4 separate regions of the Homo sapiens genome follow, and all the other regions are linked to region 1. The links are contacts of gene promoters, found by promoter capture Hi-C in human tissues and cell types (Jung and others, 2019). All regions are on one chromosome and are shown on one strand. The core of a region is centred on a gene start or on the middle of the fragment in contact, and the rest is flanking DNA. Distances in the headings are between cores, read along the strand shown.

The links. Contacts are between HindIII fragments. The study calls those that stand out against the background at their distance.
Region 2: a contact is called between a fragment that was not itself captured here and the fragment with the promoter of TMEM235 in region 1, in 2 of the 25 tissues and cell types used here (dorsolateral prefrontal cortex and spleen).
Region 3: a contact is called between a fragment that was not itself captured here and the fragment with the promoter of TMEM235 in region 1, in 1 of the 25 tissues and cell types used here (IMR-90 fibroblasts).
Region 4: a contact is called between a fragment that was not itself captured here and the fragment with the promoter of TMEM235 in region 1, in 2 of the 25 tissues and cell types used here (bladder and dorsolateral prefrontal cortex).

What each region holds. Positions count from the first base shown.
Region 1 is chr17:78,230,329-78,233,028 of GRCh38, reverse strand. It overlaps TMEM235 (transmembrane protein 235), which reads right to left and starts at 1,398. Exons shown (of 5, transcript NM_001395503.1): 1 at 816-1,398. The coding sequence starts at 1,005. The HindIII fragment of the contact is 13,022 bases long and covers 1-2,700 here.
Region 2 is chr17:78,022,483-78,025,182 of GRCh38, reverse strand. All of the region lies in intron 3 of TNRC6C (trinucleotide repeat containing adaptor 6C), which reads right to left. Among named protein-coding and RNA genes, the nearest start is that of TNRC6C, 65 kb to the right of the region's middle. The HindIII fragment of the contact is 6,361 bases long and covers 1-2,700 here.
Region 3 is chr17:78,069,100-78,071,799 of GRCh38, reverse strand. TNRC6C (trinucleotide repeat containing adaptor 6C) reads right to left here. Exons shown (of 23, transcript NM_001142640.2): 8 at 635-715. Among named protein-coding and RNA genes, the nearest start is that of TMC6, 58 kb to the left of the region's middle. The HindIII fragment of the contact is 3,903 bases long and covers 1-2,700 here.
Region 4 is chr17:78,420,051-78,422,750 of GRCh38, reverse strand. All of the region lies in intron 9 of PGS1 (phosphatidylglycerophosphate synthase 1), which reads right to left. Among named protein-coding and RNA genes, the nearest start is that of PGS1, 43 kb to the right of the region's middle. RefSeq lists enhancers at 1-201, 2,475-2,700. The HindIII fragment of the contact is 3,716 bases long and covers 1-2,700 here.

The DNA of each region.
Region 1 (2,700 bases), core at 149-2,648:
CCACCCACACATGCACTCACTCATATACATGCCCACACACTCTCACATGCACACACATGCACACTGACATGCTCACACACTCATATTCACATGCACACACAACTACATACACTCACACTCACATATTCATATTTACATACACAGCCAGGTGCTCACACATGTTCATGTTCAGCACATGCACACATATTCAGATGCACACACATGCTCACTCACACACACACCCCTGCCCTGCCAGCCCTCGCGCTGTGAAGGGGAAGCTCCCCAGGCTGGCCCCAGCTCCGGAGGAGGGAGCTGGGGGGAACGGAGGGGGCCCTGTGGACCCTCCAGCCTGCTGGGATCCCCTTCTCTCTCCCCGGACTCTGAAGCCTCTGTACACATTTGGAACCCCTGCCCCCGCGGCATCAGGAGGTGTGGGGTGAACAGCTCTGACAGTGCCTGACAGGGACGGGGACAAGGGGCTGCCAGGCCCAAACCCCGGGGAGCGTGATCAAGAAACAACCCCTGGTGACTTGGATGAGGCCCCCCAACTACACACCTCTAGGCTTCCCTCCCCCACTGTCGCCCCACAGCCCCCTCCTCCGGCTGTGAGGGGCCCCGAACTGGGCTCCCTCCCTCCTGTAGCCCTTGGGCTGTCAGTTTTGGGGGAAGACGGAGGGTGATGGGGAGGGAGCGGAGAGACACCCTGGGGCAGAGCGGGATGCAAGAGAGGGGTCCTGGAAGGGGGTCTGGCGGGGCAACACGAGCAGGGCGGGGTTAAGGGGGTGTCGGAGGGACGAGGTCGCGGAGGGAGGAGGGCCGGCGCGGTGGCCGGTTACCTTCGCAGATGCGCCAGAGCCCCGAGTGCGAGGAGAGCAGCTCTGCGCGCCCGGGCCAGGCGCTGCCATTGCCGGCGTCCGCCACCTCCAGGATGTACCAGTAGTCGCTGGCGACCGCGGCGGCCAGGAGCGCGAAGCTGAGCAGTGCACCCAGGGCGGCGGCCAGGAGCAGCGCGCCCAGCCGGGCCATGGGGGCGGCCGGCGGGAGGGGACGGGTCGGGGGTAGCAGGGCCCCGGGGGCGGCGGGGGGCGCGCGGAGCCGGGAGCCGGGGGACGGGGGGCGGGCGGGCGCGGCGGCGCCCGGCTCTTCTGAGCACGTCCCCGCTCCTGCCCGCGCACTGGCCTCGCGGGCCCCCTGGGGTCGCAGGGAGATCGACCCCACCTCTCTGCGGTCGCTGAGCTCGCCCCTGGGGGAAAGGAGAGGAAGTCGAGAGCCGCGCGGCGAACCTGGGGCTTGGGCTCCAATCCCAGCGTCCCCACGGGCTGGCCCCGGGTCCCTGGGCACGTTCCTTAATTTCCCTGAACCCCCGGCTCCTCAGCAGCCAAACAAGATGCACCTGCCTGGCCGGGCTGTGCAGGGCTTGAGAGGAGGAGGGAGGATCGGCCAGAGACCGACCCCAGGAGGATGGCCGGCCAGGCAGCAGGACCACCCACCCGTGCTCCTGGAAGCATAGGAGCCTGGCACGGGCTGGCCCTGGGGTCCTGGTCTGTATCAGTCCTGAGGACCAACCAGACGGCATCCGGTGAAGTGCAGTGGCTGGGCCCCACAGCCGGGCGGGGGGCTGCGGAAGGAAAAAACCTTGTTTTGGATTCACTCATAATTACAAATGCCCCCTCCAGCAAGGCCGGCCTCTGCCTGTCCAGTCACTCACGGAGAAAACAGGCAGAAAGAACCTTCTAGGACAGGCGTGGGGTGCCAGTGGGGGTGGGAGGCAGAGGAGCCGGCGAGAGGCCCCCACCCATCCACCCAGGACTAGCCCCATGAGCAACGCCCGCGTGGGCAGCCACACAGGCGGAAGGGACAGGCTGGGCAGCCATCGCCTAAGGTCTGGGGTTAAATCTCAAACGAAGGGGAGGCTTCCTCTGGGTTGCCACACAGGGCTGGGCAGAGCCTGCAGAGAGGGGATCAGAGGTCTGAGGACATCCTCCCGGATGGTGGCCCTTGGAGGTGAAGCCAAGGCTCTCTTCTTGGGGCGTTTTGGCCATGCTTTCCTCTGCTAGGCTCTTGTTGGTTTGAGGAATATAGTCAGGAAGGAAAAACCAGCCTAGCAGTTATTGAAACAATATTTCAAACAGAGTTCAGACAGAGTGACAGAATGGCTCAGGTATTTTGTAGCCGTCCTCACACCTGCAGCACCAGACTGTGTTGCCGCACGTGGGCAGCTCTGGGGTTTTCCAGCCCCCTTGGAGCTGGGGCTTCCCTGACCACAGCCCCTCTCTGGGAGCCATGTGGCATCCAGCAGCCCTGTTCTCTAGGGGTGGGGATAGCACATTAGATCTGGAAGGTGAAAGAACTCAACAGGTGCTCAGAGAGTAGCAGCCGTTATAAAGGCAGAGGCGATAGGGATAGGGGGTGGGGCCTCGTTCCCCCCCTAAACACACTGCAGCTGGGGAAAGAACGGTGCGTGATGAAAACTCGTGGTACTCTGACACTGACCCCACAATAAAGCAATATAACAAGAATCAATATTGCTTCGGTTGGATCAACACCTTTGTGCATGTGAAAGGTACGAACTGACTCTGCAGGGAGAACAGAGGAGCCCCATTTGGGCTGCGTGCTCCATGTGTGTCCTCCCGGTGACTTCCCCTTCTCTCTCTCACTCTATTTATTTTTTTAGAGACAAGGTCTCCCTATGTTGCCCAGGCTGGACTCAAACTCCAGGGT
Region 2 (2,700 bases), core at 69-2,568, 210 kb after region 1:
ACACAATACTGTGCATGTCAAAACCCATAGATATATAACACAAAGAGTGAACCCTAATGTAAACTGTGGCATTTAGTTAATAATAATGTATTGGCCGGGCGCGGTGACTCATGCCTGTAATCCCAGCACTTCGGGAGGCTGCGGTGGGTGGATCACCTGTCAGGAGTTTGAGATCACACTGGCTAACATGGTGAAACCCCGTCTCTATTAAAAATACAAAAATTAGCTGGGCGTCATGGCGCACACCTGTAATCCCAGCTACTCGGGAGGCTGAGGCAGGAGAGTTGCTTGAACCTGGAGGCAGAGGCTGCAGTGAGCTGAGATCGCACCATTGCACTCCAGCCTGGGCAACAGAGCAAGACTCTGTCCTAAAAAAAAAAAAGTATCAATACTAGAACATCAGTTGTATCAAATGTTCCACACAAATATGGGAAACTAGTGGTGGTGAGGAGAGGGAATACATGGGAACTTTATACTTTCAGCTCGATTGTTTTGTAAACTTAAAACTGCTCTAAATAGGCCAGGCGCGGTGGCTCACGCCTGTAATCCCAGCACTTTGGGAGGCCAAAGTGGGCAGATCACAAGGTCAGGAGATTGAGACCATCCTGGCTAACATGGTGAAACCCCGTCTCTACTAAAATACAAAAAATTAGCCGGGCGTGGTGGCAGGTACCTGTAGTCCCAGCTACTTGGGGGACTGAGGCAGGAGAATGGCGTGAACCTGGGAGGCGAAGCTTGCAGTGAGCCAAGATCGGGCCACTGCACTCCAGCCTGGGAGACAGAGAGAGACTCCATCTCCAAAAAAACAAACAAACAAACAAAAAAACCAAAAAAAACTGCTCTAAATAATACAGCCTATTAATAAAAAATGGAAATACAACCCACAACAGAGAAGAAAACTTGCTGTCTCTTTCACAATAGCAAACTTTCCAAATAAAACTGAGAGCACAATACATAGACACTTGTCTGGTAAACTTAGAACCACTCAATGTGTTTTAAAATTACAATTAGCATACTAACAATTATTTTTTCACACACTTTAATGTATCTGCCTCAAAAGGTTTTTTTGTTTTTGCTTTTTTTTGAGACGGTGTTTTTTTTGCTCTTGATGCTCAGGCTGGAGTGCAATGGCACAATCTCTGCCTCCTGGGTTCAAGTGATTCTCCTGCCTCAGCCTCCCAAGTAGCTGGGATTACAGGTGCCCGCCACCATGCCTGGCTAATTTTTGTATTTTTAGTAGAGATGGGGTTTCACCATGTCGGCCAGGCTGGTCTTGAACTTCTGACCATAGGTGATCCACCCACCCTGGCCTTTCAAAGTGCTGGGATTACAGGCATGAGCCACAGTGCCCGGCCAGGCTTTTTTGTTTGTTTTTTGAGACAGGGTCTCACTTCCGTTGCCCAAGCTGAAGTGTAGTGGCATGATCACAGCTCACTGTAGCCTTGGCTTTCCGGGCTCAGGTGATCCTCCCACCTCAGCCTCCCAAGTGGCTAGGACGACAGATGTGTATCACCATGCCCAGCTAATTTTTTGTATCTTTAGTAGAGATGGGTTTTTGACATGTTTCCCAGGCTGGTCTTGAACCCCTGGACTCAAGCAGTCTATCCACCTCAGCCTCTCAAGTGCTGGGATTACAGGCATGAGCCACTGTGCCCAGCTCAAAAGTTTTATTCTAGACTCAACAAGTGCTTCTTGGGAAGCTAGGAATATTGGTTCTTTTACTACAAAATTCAAAAGCAGTAGCAGCAGAAGAGGAGGAGGAGGAGGAGCAGGAGAAGGAAGGAATAAAAAAAGAGAACTATTAGCAAGCTACAGAAATTTTTGTGATGAAAAACCCAGTTTCTCTTTTGTAAATAACTGACACTGGATGGCTAGCTACTATAAAAGTCAAAGTACAGTCATCCTTCAGTATCCAAGAGGGACTGGTTCCAGAAACCCCCTTGGATGCCAAAATCCACAGATGCTCAAGTCCCTGTTATAAAACAGGTTATTATTTGCGTATAACCTACGCATATCCTCCCGCATACGTTATGTTGTTAATTTTTAATTTTTTTTTTAGAGACGGAGTCTCACTGTGTTGCCCAGGGTGGGCTGGACTTGAATTCCTGAGCTTAAGTGTTCCTCCCACCTCAGCCTCCCAAATAGCTGGGACAATAGGTGCATACCACCATGCCCAGCTCTCCTATATATTTAAATAATCTCTAGATTACTTATAATACCTAATGTAATTTACATGCTATATAAATAGCTGTTATACTGTATTGTTTATGGAATAATAAGAAAAAAAGGTCTGCACATGTACAGTACATGCACTGCATCAGTACAGATGCAACTGTCCATTTATATTTCAAATATTTTTGATTGACAGTTAGTTAAATCCATGGATGCAGAAGCCACAGATAAGGAGTGCCAACTACACTTGTACTTCTACTTGTCATTTTGCCTTTTAAAAGACTCGAAATGAAGAAAATGCACCAGAACTCAAAACCTGATGGAAACAATTAGGCAAGGACTCAGAAGCAAAGAATTTGAGCTGACAGGAACCTTAGAAATCATCCAGTCCCACCCTCATCTGCACAGACTCAGGCAACCGAGATGATATGGCTGAGATGACTGACCCAGCTACCACTGGGACTAGAACTCACATCTCTGACCATGCTTTTCCACCATGCTGCTGTTAATCTTTCTTAAATGACTGAA
Region 3 (2,700 bases), core at 113-2,612, 160 kb after region 1:
GATCTCTGTCAATATACTCTATACACTAATGAAATTCACGTTTAATTATAAATTAAAAGTAAACATAAAACTGTATAAACCAATGAAAATTAAAAATCACACAGCATTTTCCGGCTGGGCGTAGTGACTCATGCCTGTAATCCCAGCACTTTGGGAGGCCGAGGCGGGCAGATCGCTTGAGCCCAGGTGTTCGAGACCAGCCTGGCCAACACAGTGAAGCCTCGTCTCTACCAAAAATACAAAAATTAGCCGAGCATGGTGGCTCACGCCTGTAGTCCCAGCTCTACTCGGGAGGCCGAGACAGGAGGACTGCTTGATCACACCACTGCACTGCAGCCTAGGTGCCAGAGCAAGACCCTGTCTCCAAAAAAAAAAAGCATTTTCTATTCTAGGAAAAGGCTCTCACACCCTTTTTGATAGAAATTGTGTGGGTCTTTGCTGTAGTTCAAAGCAATGATCTCTAACCCAAACTACCCAGGTAAAAGGGAGATTTAAGAGTTAGATGATGTCAATATCTCATTCCTCAAACAATCTTGGTGTCTTCTGACACACATAACAAACATGGAGAGGAAACAATGAGGGCATTTCATTTTGGGAAGCATGGTGGGTAGCAGTAAACTACGACGCCAGTTACCGGGAAGCCCATGTCTGTGAGTTGTTTGATCAGCCGGCTCATGATCCAGGCCTCATCCTGCTTGCCAGACGTCTTCATGCCCTTGAACAAAGTGTGGGAAAGGGGGAAGTCCATGAGCTACATTTTAATGCATTTCTACCAGAAATGGGAGACAGCCTAAATTCAGGGTCATTTAAAAGTCACAGGATCTTTTTGTATTAACATTGAATAATGCTGTATTCCAGAAACTCCCTAACAGTATTTCGTGGCTACTGCTACGGAAAGCATCAAGGTACATTTGCAGGTTGGTATATATGTGCAATTTATGAACTTAAAGCAAGATAATTATTTCTCTTTCCCAGATAATTAATTTAGTTTATCACAAATATAGACTACTTTTACTATCCAATAATCCTAAGCGCTCCCTTGAACACAGCCCTATGTGAAGTTTACTAAAAATTACACTTTTTGCCTTTTCTAAGCTTTATTCTGAAAAATGATAAAATGAGGGGGTTTATTCCAATGAGTAAAGAGGCAGCAAGAAGAAAGGATGAAACAACCTGTTAATTTTATTAACTATTTGTTACTTATAGCTCATAGGGTAGAGAAAAGGAATAAGGAGGAAAATGTCAGTGAAGGAGAGGATGAGGAAAAAGGTCAGCTACAGAAAGAGCAGTGGGGGTGGGGGAGGGCTCGGCACCACAGAAGAGCCAGGAGGCTTCTCAATAACTTCCCTCTGAGCCTATAAATGCAAAGGTTCTAATGATGCATTATTACAATATGAAAAAAATTCCCTTCCAAAAATATTCTTCATAGTGTTTTTCACAATTGAGCCTGCCACAGCTATATCATGGAGCATATGGAGCTCTATAAACAGGCTTTCTTTCCTCAAGGAACTAGCTTATTTTGGGGCTATTTCAATCATTACTATGCTGCCAGAGCCAGATTAGTCAAGATTTTAATTTACCAATTTGCTATTTTTGGTCCCATCATTAACTGGATTATTTGCCAGCCCAACTGTAAAAAGGATTCTTTTTGATGTCTGTAATCACTTCTACTCCTCATGAGCGGAGAGCTCTGATTTTAGTTTCTGGTTTCTGCTGATTATTAACTGAATGCTTTTATAAACTATATTTTTTTGAACATGAATACATTCACACGATTCAAAAGTATAAACAAGGTATAAAGAAAGTTTTCATCTCATGCCACCCCATTTGCTTAGTTCCTGTTCTCTCGAAGAGGCACTACTCATAGCAGTTTCTTATTTGCCCTTCCAGAGAATTTAGAACATTCTGTAGAAGCTGATACACTACGTGTGCATGCATGCATACACACACTCACATACACACACACACGTTTTCTTCCTCCTACCCCACAAAATAGGGTGTGTGCTGTACATGTTTTTCTGCACCTTGCTTTTAATTTAACAATGTACTTTAGTGATCTTTTCATATCAATACATAGATAGAATTTCCTTTTAGTTCTGTATAATGTAGAAGTGACATAATTAACTTGTTACTCCATCAATGTACACATAAATTATTGTTATCTTTTTACTACAAAAATGCTGCAATACAAAACTGTATAAATGCCACAAAGTGAGACTCTGTCTCTACAGAAAAAATAAAAAATAAAATTAGTTGGGCAGAGTGGCATGCACCTGTAGACCCAGCTACTCAGGAGGCTGAGGCAGGAGGACAATTCGAGCCCAGGAGTTCAAGGTTGTACTCCAGCCCCTAAGGTGACACAGCAAGACTCTGTCTCTAAAAAAATTTTTTTAAATAAAAAAATCAAAACGCTGGCTTTCTGTGGGTCTGAGAGATGAAAAATGGCAGGTGTCTCTGAGTGCTGTCTGGAACTGCACTGCCTTCCTGTGAGTCCGTGTCTAGGAGCCACTGGTGCTCCTTCTCTGTGGACCAGCTACTCTTCACATTCTGTGCTCCTTTTTCTACTGGGTTTCTGGCTGATTTTTTTTTTAAATCAGTTTCTAGGACTTTATGTATCAGGGGATTGGCCCTCTCTATGATATGAGTTATAAACATATTTTTCCAGTTTGCTATTTTTCTTTTGACTTTGATTATGGTATT
Region 4 (2,700 bases), core at 62-2,561, 190 kb before region 1:
GGACGGCAATCTTACTTGAGCCCAGGAGTTTAAGACCAGCCTGGGCAACGTGGCAAAACCATCTCTATCAATCAAAAATACAAAAAATTAGCTGGGAATGTTGTATGTGCCTGTGGTCCCAGCTACTCAGGAGGCTGAGGCAGGAGGGTCGCTTGAGCCCATGAGGTCAAGTACGCAGCGAGGCATGATCATGCCACTCACTCCAGCCTGGGTGACAGAGTGAGACCCTGTCTCAAAAGGGGGAAAAAAGGCAAACACACCCATTAGGAATATCGTTCTACGTTCAGCTTGATCATCAAGTTTTGCAAAAACATTTTTCCAAGTTTACTCACCTAAATCATGGGTTAAGAAGCATCTAGAAAGTCCAAATTCTGAGGGTAATGATTCACAACAATCTTAGCGCCCAGTAGGGCTATCGGAGGGAAAAGAAAAATCCTCCCCTCCTGGCGCCCAAGGAATCCAGCCCTTTGTGGCTGCAGAGAAGGGAAGCAGTTTCAGCCTCCCCCAGCCTGGCTGGGCCAATACCTCTGCTGGCCAGGAGGGGTCACTGCAGCCCTTCAGGTGACCAGGGGAGCTAAAGCCACCAGGGGCCACCGGGCAACTCACTTCAGTCCCTGGTAATAACCACAAAATGTGACGTTTTTCCATTTTGCCTTTAGATCCTGAAATAAGAAAGTAATCTAGTCCACACATACATATTGTGGGTAGTTGACAAAATTATCTCTAAACTTTCCAAGAAATGATTCGCACTTAAGCTGCACTCCAGCGACGGGGAACACAGGGACTGGAACACGACAGCCCCGCGCACCTAGAAAGCCGGGAGGACTGCGGCGGCCGCCGCCCGCCGCCCGCTGCTCTCTGTTGCTCCGGCTGCTTTGCAGAGTTAGGGAGGCTTGGTGTGGGGAGCTCCTCAGGGAGAACCTGCCTAGGACAGCCTCGAAGGTCATCAGCAGAGACAGAGGGAGCAGTGTGCGCTGCGGGAACGGCACTGCAGATAGATTGCTTAAGCCTGGCTGTGGCATAATGATATTTACTCTGGTCCCACAGAATCTGGAGGAATGCGAACTCTGTTTACCGAGAGCCTCTCTCCAAACAGAAACCCAGTGCCCCTGCACATTCCTTTGGCTCCTCCAGTCTAATTGTCCCACAGGACACCGTAATAACTAGTTGGAAGGCAAACAGTGTTAACTGATGTGATGTGCTGCTGTCCAGGGCACTGTGGCCAGGCCGCCGCTCCACCTATCCCCAGCCACTCAAACTGCAGGTCTGCCTGGTGCGGAAGCTGCAACTGTCCTTGTCTAAGACCAGGTGAGCCTATGCAACCTTTCAGACCCCATGAAGGGTGACAGTGACTCCTGCCAGCCCTCGGGAGGGAAAGGCGAGAAGCTGCTTCTAGAGAGGCAAAGTGCAGGGACTAAATCTAATCTCACTCCCCGAAAGGACAGGCTGCCATGCCCTGTAGCCCAGGAAGCTTCTCTCTGTGCAAGGGTCAAGCACCTGAAGATGATAAAGAGATCAGGCAGTGAGGTCACAAAAGCAGCTCCTGGAGACACTGGGGGATATGGAGAGCTGGCTTTATAAACACACATGACATGTATTCAAAATCCCCTGCTACTAGGTGACACAAAAATGTTTTAAGTAGATCCAATAAAAATAAAGTTCATTCTTCAAAAAATAAATTGCTAGGGAAAAAACAATCACAAGGTGTAGTCCTTAATTGGACTTCAAGTCAAATAATCGAAAAAATTAATTTTAAGGCAAGTGGAATTGTGAACACCATTTAGGTATTTGATGATACTAAGACATTCTTGGTAATTTTTGTTTCAGGAGTGACACTGGTGCTGTTTTGGTTAAGTACACATTTTGGGGGAAGACAGCAGGATATGCACGTTATTTAGAAATACGGACACGTGTGCACATCAGAAGAAACAAGCCAAGAGTGGCTGCCTGGGGGAAGGGAGGGCAGGAAATGGCCGCAGTATTGTTTTACTCTCTACATTTGCACACACTATTCAAATAAAATGAAAAGTAATTAAAATAACTAGGAAAAGCTGCAGATAAACTACACATTTTTAAACAATGAGACTTAGCAGAGCACTAAGGTGCCAGGCACTAAGGGAGCCCACGCTGCACACATGAGATGCCGGCACTAGCGCATGTGCCGGCCACATGGGTCCTGGCTCATCTTTGACTCCTCACCGTCCCTTCCCCACAAGCCACCATCCAAAGGCCCAGCCATCCAAAGCAACAGAACTACCCACAACATCCAGAACCAGAGAGCAGGGGCCTCGGGAGCCTGACCCCACCCGGAGTGCAGTCCAGGCCCTGAGGGATCCAGGACACAAAAGGTCACTCAGCAAAGACCCCACCTTTAATGGCAGCCACCCCCTGCCCGGACCTCTAGGCGTCAAGACAGTCCAGGGGTACCTCAGGTGACTGTGGGACCCCACTGGTGCCTCTGGTGAAGCGGCAGGCCCCTCCTGGGTGGGCAGAGCAGGTCCTGTTACTCAACTTCCAGAGTCTAGAAGGGCGCAGCTCTGTAACCGCAGCACAGGGATGTCAGCGAGGCGTCCAGGCAGCAGCCCACGGTCTGGCTCTACCGACGCCCCACCCTGTGCACTACAGCCGGCCAGGGCAGCAAGCCAGAGCCACTCTCACGAGCAAACGTGCTCCCCTCCTCCCACGTCTACATCTCCTGCA